2 separate regions of the Homo sapiens genome follow, and region 1 is linked to region 2. The links are contacts of gene promoters, found by promoter capture Hi-C in human tissues and cell types (Jung and others, 2019). All regions are on one chromosome and are shown on one strand. Each heading gives the region's core, a stretch centred on a gene start or on the middle of the fragment in contact. The rest is flanking DNA. Distances are from core to core; before and after follow the strand shown.

Region 1 (4,662 bases), core at 355-2,854, 1.3 Mb after region 2:
ACATGGTAAAACCCCGTATCTGCTAAAAATACAAAAATTAGCTGGGCGTGGTAGCACACGCTTGTAGTCCCAGCTACTCAGGAGGCTGAGGCAGGAGATTTGCTTGAACCTGGGAAGTGGAGGTTGCAGTGAGCTGAGAGTGCACTCCAGCTTGGCAGCAGAGTGGGATTCTGTCTCAAAAAAAAAAAAAAAAAAAAAAAAAAAAAGATGAGAAAAGACAGTCTCTACTGTTCAGATAGGAAGTAAAAACATAAATAGGTTTAAGTGCTAAGTGCTGTGAGAAAAGTAAAAAGAGTTCATTAAGAAGAGGCATACTTATCTGAGCCCACCCTGGGTAAGAGGGTGGAGGAGTAGGTTATGGAAAGCTTTCTGAAAGAGAGACATTTCCTAGTTATATTGTAGACAACATAAAGTATGATGCAATTAAACATCTTTTGGATTTCATGTATTTTTAAAGTGTGAACAATTAAAAATAATTCAGATTACTTTAAAAAAATCCATTTAACCCATTTATTGGGTGCCTACTTTGTATTAGGCACTGTGGTATGCCCAGAAGATGTAATGATAAGCAAAATCAGAAATGATTTCTTACCTCATAGACTTGAGAATCTCATGGGGAGACTGACACGAATCAGATTGTTCACTGTAAGACTGTACAGAAGTCCCTTCATTTCTGCTTTCAGGATCACTTTCAGGATCACTTCTTACAGCCATGGTTCATTAAGTGTGGCCCCCCAGTCCAGCCACATCAGCTGGGAGGATCGTCTTAGCCCAGGAATTCGAAGCTGTAGTGAGTTAGAATGGCATCACTGCACCCCAGCCTGGGTGACACAGGGAGACCCTGGCTCTGAAAAAAAAAAAAAAGTACTTTTTCTTGATAATTATTAAGATATAGTTGGTTATTTAAGGTTAGAATTTCATTTAATACCCATTTACCACATTCTAAAAATGTAACCAAGAACTAGAGGTTAGTTCTGATAATATTTTTTTCCATGATTTGAGGTTATTTGAATTCTATTATTTTTATTTGTTTCAACCAAGTAAAGTGTGCAGGGGAAGCAGTGAGCCTTCATTTCTTTTCTTTTTTTGAGACAAGTTCTGGCTCTTATCACCTAGCCTGGAGTGCAGTGGTGCTATCTCAGGTCACTGCAACCTCTCCCTCCTGGGCTCAAGCCATCCTCCTACCTCAGCCTCCCAAGTAGCTGAAACTACAGGCGCATACCACCACACCTGGCTAATTTATGTATTTTCTGTAGAGACAGGGTTTTACCATGTTGCCCAGGCTGGCCTCGAACTTGCGAGCTCAAGCAATCAGCCTACCTCAGCCTCCTATGCAGCTGAGATTACAGGTGTGAGTCACTGTTCCCAGCTGAGCCTTATCTTCAAAATACTCTCTCCTCCGAGAGAACTTCGTTTCTAGGAATTACATCTTTTTGGGGAAAATTTTGTACTCTTGATAGCTTCAAAGAAAAAATTGAAAATAGCAATTTTGTGATAAAATTTTTGAGGCAATAAGACATTGGCTACTCTTACAAGAAAAGATGTGGGGGTGATTATCGTTAATTATAACTTAATTGTACTTTTACAAATAAAGAGTGTAATTGGATTGTTTGTAACTCAAAGGATAAATGCTTGAGGGGATGGATACCCCATTCTCTATGATGCGCTTGTTTTACATTGCATGCCTGTACTGGAACATCTCTTGTACCCCATAAATATATACACCTACTGTGTACCCTTAAAAAGTAAAAAATAAAGGTGAGGAAGATGAGAAAATACAGTCTTTTTCATAACACATATTCCTATTAGCAATTTTTTTTTTTTTTTTTTTTTGAGATGGAGTCTCACTCTGTCACCCAGGCTGGAGTGCAATGGCGTGGTCTCGGCTCACTGCAACCTCCTATTAGTAATTTAAATGTATTTTTAGTTATATGAAAAATTACTCAAAGTAGCTGACGCAGTGACTCATGCCTGTAGTCCTAGCAGTTTGGGAAGCCGAGGCAGGAGGATTGCTTAAGCTCAGGGCTTCGAAACCAGCCTGGGTGAGATAGCGAAATCCTGTCTCTACAAAAAATACAAGAATTGGCTTGGCATGGTGGCACACACCTGTAGTCCCAGCTAGTTGGGTGGCTGAGATGGGAGGATTGCTTGAGCCTAGGGAGGTCAAGGCTGCAGTGAACCGTAATTGTGCCACTTTACCCCCCAACCTGAACGACAGAGCAAGACCATGTCTCAAGAAAGAAGAAGAAGAAAAAGATTACTCAAAATGAAAACCTGTCAATTTTCTGAGCCTGGGACTCTCCGGGTACATTGATCTATATTAGGTACATTGATTTTTTTCTTTTTTTAATCTTTGTAGCTTTTGTTTATGTATACAAACTTGATTTATGGAGTATTTTTTAAGTGGATGAATAAATTGTCTAAAATGTTTTACAAGCAAAATTGTGAATCAGCATTGTTATTTCAAATCTTTGTTGTTTTATGGCTTTTGTCAGATGACATCTACAAAATTATTAAAGAATCGTTATAGCAGACTAGCATTAAAAATTTAAAGATATTTTGGTTACTAGACAAGGTAAAACTAATCTTTTAGAAATATAACTCATTTTAATTTTTGAAACAGAGCTCATTTTAGTTGTTAAAGTGAGGAACCTGCAGCAGTTCTCACAAGAATTTAGAAATAGTCATATGTTTTGACAACTTTTCTGACAGTTATGTAAAACACCTTATCAAGAATAATAAAAGCAAAATGTATTAATTAAACAAATTCATATGTATAAAAATTAGGAGCAAAAGCATTCTTTTGCAGTTGTAAGTTTCTATAGCTTTTACTGGAAAATGTTAGTCAAAATATTAATGGTGAAAATGTAGTGTGGTTTAAAATTTTTTTTAATTAAAAAATTTTTAAATATACTTTGCTAGACTCCAACTGACACCATATCTAGTGTGGTTTTGACTTTAGTTTTCATTATAATAATTTAGAAAGAAGAACCTAATACATTTTTAAAGTAAAAGACAGTATTACTCTGGAAAAGCAAGGCAGAGAATGTAGAGGACTGCACTATAAAGAAGAATTATTGGCCAAGTGTGGTGGCTCATTCCTGTAATCCCAGTGCTTTGGGAGACTGAGATGGGAGGGTCACTTGAGGCCATGAGTTTGAGACAAGCCTGAGCAACATAGTGAGACTTTGTCTCTACAACAAAAAAAAATTAGCCAGGTGTGGTGGTGTGCGCCTGTGTTCTTAGTTGCTTGGGAGGCTGAGGCAGGAGGATCATTTGAGCCCAGGAGTTCCAGGCTGCAGTGAGTGATTATTAAAGAGTGAACTCTTTATTTTAGGTAGGATTTTTTTGTTTATATGATGTAAAGTTATATGATAGAGATGTTTACCTAAATTTGTAATTTAGTAAATCAACCAAGTAAAATCAAAGATGGTACATTTTAATTCTATGCAGTTTGCTTTTGCTGGCAGAAGGACTCTAATTTTTATTCATATTATTAATGTTTGTTTAGAAACGGATCTGAATTTAAGGTGTATAGGGCAAAGTGAATAGTAAAAAACATCCTGATTTTTTAATAAAATCACTTTTTTTTTTTTTTTTTGAGACAGGGTCTCACTCTGTTGCCCAGACTGGAATGCAGGAATGCAATCTTGGCTCACCGCAACCTCTGCCTCCTGGTCTCAAGCGATCCTCCCACCTCAGCCTCCTAAGTAGCTGGGACTACAGGCGCATGCCACAGTGGCCGGCTAATTTTTGTTTTCTTTGTAAAGATGGGGTTTCACCATGTTGTCCAGGCTGGTCTTGAACTCCTGGACTCAATCCGCCAGCCTCGGCCTCCCAAAATGTTGGGATTACAGGTGTGAGCCATGTGCCTGGCCTTGACATTATTATTATTATTATTATTATTTTTTTCGAGATGGAGTCTTGCTCTGTCACCCAGGCTGGAGTGCTGTGGCGCGATCTCAGTTCACTGCAACTTCCGCTTCCCGGGTTCAAGCAATTCTCCCGCCTCAGCCTCTTAAATAGGTAGGATTTTACAGGCGCCCACCACTGTACCCGGCTAATTTTTGTATTTTTAGTAGAGACGGGGTTTCACCATGTTGGCCAGGCTGGTCTCGAACTCCTGACCTTGTGATCTGCCCACCTCGGCCTCCCAAAGTGCTGGGATTACAGGCGTGAGGCACCATGCCTGGCTGACATTATTTTTTAGAACACTTTTAGGTTCACAGCAAAATTGAGCAGAAAGTGCAAAGTTGCCATATATACCCTGCATCCACACATGCATAGCCTCCCCCACTTTCAACATCTGGCACCAGAGTAGCATGTTTATTACAGTGGATGAACCTACATTGGCCCGCATTGATACCTTATCACCCAGTGTCTATAGTTTACTTTAGGGTTCATTCTTGGTAATGTGCATTTTGTATCATTATACAAATGTGTAATGACAGATATTCACTATTATAGTGTCATAGAGATTATTACTATTACTTTTGTTTTTTTTTAAACTCTTAAGTTCCTTTTTGTTGTTGTTGTTTTTGAGACAGAGTCTTACTCTGTGGCCCAGGCTGGAGTGCAGTGGTGCGATCTTGGCTCACTGCAACCTCCGCCTCCTGGGTCCCGGTTCAAGCAATTCTCCTGCCTCAGCCTCCCGAGTAGCTG
Region 2 (4,762 bases), core at 719-3,218:
AGGAGGTAAAGGCAGGTAGCCTAGAACTGATATGGTTGCCATAAATAATCAAGTCTCCTTTAGGCTCAGTACTTCATTTTCCCTACAGTGTGACCCCCTTTCTGTGGTCCAGTATGGTGCTAGAGCTGCAGCCAACACATCCCAAATCCAGGCAGCTGAATGGAGGATGGGATTAAGAAGAGGCAAAGACCATCATGCAGTAGCTCCCTTTTAAGGGGGTTTCTAGGAAGCTACCATGCAATACTTTGATTATATTTTATTGGCCTGAACTCAGTCAGCTGGCCATACCTAGCTGCAAAAGAGGCTGGGAAATATAACTATATGCCCAGTTAAAAAACTGGGAGTTCAATTATTATGAAAGAAGGGGAGAATAGATATTGAGGCAGACAACGAGTAGTCTCTACCACAAGAACCTTAGAACCTGAGGTGTCTTTATGAACACGCATTTGGACTGATTTTTTTTTTTTTTGGACAGGGTCTCACTCTATGGCCCAGTCTGGAGTGTGATGGCGCCATCACTGCTCACTTCAGCCTGAACCTCCCAGGTTCAAGCAATTCTCCTGCCTCAGTCTATGGAGTAGCTTGGACTACAGGTGTGCACCACTACACCCGGCTAATTTAAAAAAAAGTTTGTTGTTGTTGTTGTTGTTGTTTTTGTGGAGATGAGGTCTCACTATGTTGCCCAGGCTGGTCTCAAACTCCTGGCTTGTGATCCTCCTGCCTTGGCCTCCCAAAGTGCTGGGATTACAGGTGTGAGCCACTGTGCCTGGCCTGGACTAATTCTTTACAAGTTTTCTCCACCACCGGATAGATCTCTTCACGGCAGAGACTTGATCTATCAGTTGTATTCCCAGTTTGTCCTACAGTGCTTTAGACATGATTGATAGTAACATGATTTTGGAAGTGAATAGGATATAATCTTAAAGCATTCAGGAAGCCATTGTTAGCAAACGTTGCAGAGCAGTAGGTGTGATCTCAATTCCTCTCACCAGCCTATGCATTTCCTTAGTCAGTAAATCACTGAATCTATTTCTGTCTTGAGTATTGCATGTTGACTGTGGCATGTGATTGAGCATAAAAAGGCGTTAGCGATATGCATCCAGAGATCTCACTGAGGTCTAAAGCACTGAGAAGACTTCATTAGGTGAAACTTGGGTTGGTGAAACACCTTTTTTCTTACTGGCAGTATATTAATGATAACATTTGTATAGCATATTATTTACATCCTCACAACATCACCAGGATATTTTTATTTTCATCCTTATCTTACTGTTGAAGAAATGGAGGCTCAGAGAAGATAAAAATATTCAATTTAGCAAGTGGCAGATCTGGAAGTAGAAACCAGATTTTATGAAACCAAAGGCATCTCTAGAGAATTTTTTTTTTATTTCAGTAAAATTACTGCGTACCTATTGTGGAGAAGACCACCACATCCTTTGGTTTCACTTTTAGGTGACTTATAAAGTAATAGGGAGAAATGAGGGCAGATCATTTTGCTAGCTCTAACTGAAGAATTCCAGTCAATCAATACTGTGGCTGTTATCGGCTTTATAAAAGACTACTATTCCCAGCATGCCTCAAGGCACCTCCAGGAAGACCTTGACTCCCAGCATTCTGTACTTTGGAACTCCGAGTCCCAGAATGCAACATTCCTCCTACTTCCTCTCAGGGGGCCGTCGAGACTACAGTTCCCAGCATGCAGCGCCGCCACCTGCTTCTGGCGCCCCGCTGGACCCTGCTTCGAAGGGACCGTTTGGTCGCCAGAGGGCGGTTCCTGGAGTTACAGCCGCGTTTGCGGGACGTGTCTGCGCGGCAGTCCTGGCCTGTTGAGCTTGTCCAGACGAAGCCTCGCAGGGATGGGTTGGAGCCTGGGCCGGGCTTCGCTCAGGCAGCGTTTGAGGCAGACCCAGCAGGGTCCTCCTGGGGCCTTCCTGCCTTTGAACTGCGGTGGCGGGCGGGCGCACGGTCTCCTGTACGCCCTAGACTAGGGGCCGCCATCTCCATGGCCACGGCCGTGAGCCGGCCCTGCGCCGGCAGGTCGCGGGACATACTGTGGCGCGTGAGTGCGGCGTGCACTGTGGCACGCACTGCCAGGGTCGGGCCGGGCGGGCAAGCTCTGATCGCGCGTGCGCGCTGGGCGGGGGAGGGCCGGTCCCGGGGCAGCGTGGAGAGAACGCGTGGGGAAGGCACCACTTGGGGGACTGATTGCAGGGTTGTGGGAAGTCCTGAGTGGAAGTTGGTTACGGGGTAGGAGAGGGGTCCTGAGTGGAAGGAAGCTGGTCAGAGTGGGACGGATGGACTGAATGGAAATTGGAATAGGGAGTGAGGCGGAGTTTTACGCAAGGGTACCGTATCCAGTAGGTGCAAAATAAATAACTTAATTTGTTTCGTTAAGAAGTGGGAAGGAATGCACGGAATTGGAAAGAAATGTGGCATTAGTAGAGGCTGGGGTTAGGGTCCAGTAAGCAGGGCAGGTGTTCTTTGTAAGGTAGAATGGGACTGAGCTGAGTGGAATAGTACTTCCTCCTTAAAGTTACGGAATTAACAGTACTACATCGCTTCTCTGGAGTGCAAAGAGAAAGAGGAGAAAGATCCCTTTTGGAAAAGTGCTTCTATCCCAGTGCACTGCCATCTCCCCTGTATTCCAAACTAAAAACTTTTGGGTCCGTAAGTCTTATCTTTTTTTTTTTTTGAGCCGGAGGCTCGCTCCCTGTTGCCCAGGCTGCAGTGCAATGGCGCGTTGTCGGCTCACTGCAACCCCCGCCTCCAGGGTTCAAGGAGTTCTGCCTCAGCTTCCCGAGGAGCGGGGATTATAGATACGCACCACTACGCCCAGCTAATTTTTGTATTTTTAGTAGAGATGGGGTTTCACCATGTTGGTCAGGCCGGTCTTGAACTCCTGACCTCAAGTGAGTCATCCGCCTCGGTCTCCCAAAGTGCTGAGATTACAGGCGTGAGCCACCGTGCCTGGCCTCTAAAATTTTTTTAAAAATTATTTTTATAATAGAGATACGATATCTTCTCCAGCCTGGTCTTGAGCTCCTGGGCTCAACTAGTCCTCCTGCCTCAGCCGCCTAACTATTTGGGACATCAGGTGCATGCCATCGTGCCTGGTGTATGTTTAGCATGCATGAGTACTTCATTCCTTTTTGTGGCTGAATAATCCACTGTATGGACATACCACATATTTTGTTTATCCATTCATCAGTATGTGGGTATTTGGGTTGTTGCCACCTTTGGCACTTGTGAGCCACCGCACTTGGCTGACAGTGTCTTCTGAAGCAAAAAAGTTTTAAATATTGCTGATGTCCAATTTATCTATATTTTTCTTTTGTTGCTTATGCTTTTGGTGTCATATCTAAGAAACCATTGCCAAATCCAAGATCATGAAGGTTTACTCCTATGTTTTCTTCCAAGAGTTTTATAGTTTTAGCTCTTACATGTAGGTCTTTAATCCATTTTGAGTTAATTTTTGTATAGAATGTGGGATAGGAGGCTGGGCGCTGTGGCTCACGCCTGTAATCTTAACACTTTGGGAGGCTGAGGTGGGAGGATCACTTGGGGTCAGGAGTTCGAGACCCCATCTCTACTGAAAAAAAAATTAGTCAGGTGTGGTGGCGGGCACCTGTAACCCCAGCTACTCAGGTGGCTGAGGCAGGAGAATCACTTGAACCCGGGAGGAGGAGGTTGCAGTGAGCTGAGATGGCACTGTTGCATCTAGCCTGGGGGACAGAGCGAGCTGTCTCAAAATCACAACATCAAAAAGAATGTGGGATAGGAGTTCAACTTTATTCTTTTTTTTTTTTTTTTTTGTTAGACAGAGTCTTGCTCTGTTGCCCGGGCTGGAATGATGCCTGGCTAATTTTTAAAAAATTTTTTATAGAGACAGGGTTTTACCATGTTGGCCAGGCTGGTCTCAAACTCCTGGCCTCAAGTGATCCGCCCACCCTGGCCTCCCAAAGTGCTGGGATACAGATGTGAGCCACCACGCCCGGCCTCAGCTTTTTGGTGGACTGCCTCCTAACTGCATTGTCTCTGGTTTGGTTCGTGTCCCAACTCCTCCATCTTCCTTAAAGCCAGCTTTCAGTAAACAGACATGTTTTACCTTGAGCAACATGAATTTGATTGTCACTTTCATGCTTAAAACCCCTCTATATCTTCTTGTATTATTCAGCAGTAAATATTTTCCTCCTATATGATAGATACGGGCAATTCAAACATGAATAGAATGCTACAGTGCCGTAGTTGCCCAGTAAAGGTTCATATCTGATGATTATAAATACAGTTACAGTATACAGGTGGTTCCCATAAAATGTGTACAGCCTTTATATATTAATATAGCTATCAATTAAGCCTAGAGAGACAAGTATTAGTTGCTCTAAAACAGCTGTAAATCAATGCCCACCACCCCTCATACAAAGTATGATATTTGATGTTGCACCTAACTTTGTACTAATGCAGGCATCAGCTCACTGATACTATAAATTCTTTAGTGGTACGTAATGTTATTACTAGTAGTGAATGTTTGAGTTACGGATTATGATCTGAGTTAGTGGTTAACATCCTGTATGAAAAGATAGGATTTGCATAACTGAAATAATTTAACTGACTTCATGAGTGAGGGTTTTTCTTTTTGTTTATAGGTTTTGGGCTGGAGGATAGTTGCAAGTATTGTTTGGTCAGTGCTATTTCTACCCATCTGCACCACAGTATTTATAATTTTCAGCAGGATTGATTTGTTTCATCCTATACAGTGGCTGTC

The links. Contacts are between HindIII fragments. The study calls those that stand out against the background at their distance.
Region 1: a contact is called between a fragment that was not itself captured here and the fragment with the promoter of NDC1 in region 2, in 1 of the 25 tissues and cell types used here (H1 embryonic stem cells).

What each region holds. Positions count from the first base shown.
Region 1 is chr1:52,527,430-52,532,091 of GRCh38, reverse strand. All of the region lies in intron 1 of TUT4 (terminal uridylyl transferase 4), which reads left to right. It overlaps LOC105378723 (a long non-coding RNA gene), which reads right to left and starts at 710. Exons shown (of 4, transcript XR_007066083.1): 1 at 593-710. The HindIII fragment of the contact is 4,129 bases long and covers 1-3,668 here.
Region 2 is chr1:53,835,502-53,840,263 of GRCh38, reverse strand. NDC1 (NDC1 transmembrane nucleoporin) reads left to right here and starts at 1,968. Exons shown (of 18, transcript NM_018087.5): 1 at 1,968-2,059; 2 at 4,644-4,762. The coding sequence starts at 2,003. RefSeq lists an enhancer at 1,495-1,974 and a silencer at 2,085-2,214. The HindIII fragment of the contact is 21,020 bases long and covers 1-4,762 here.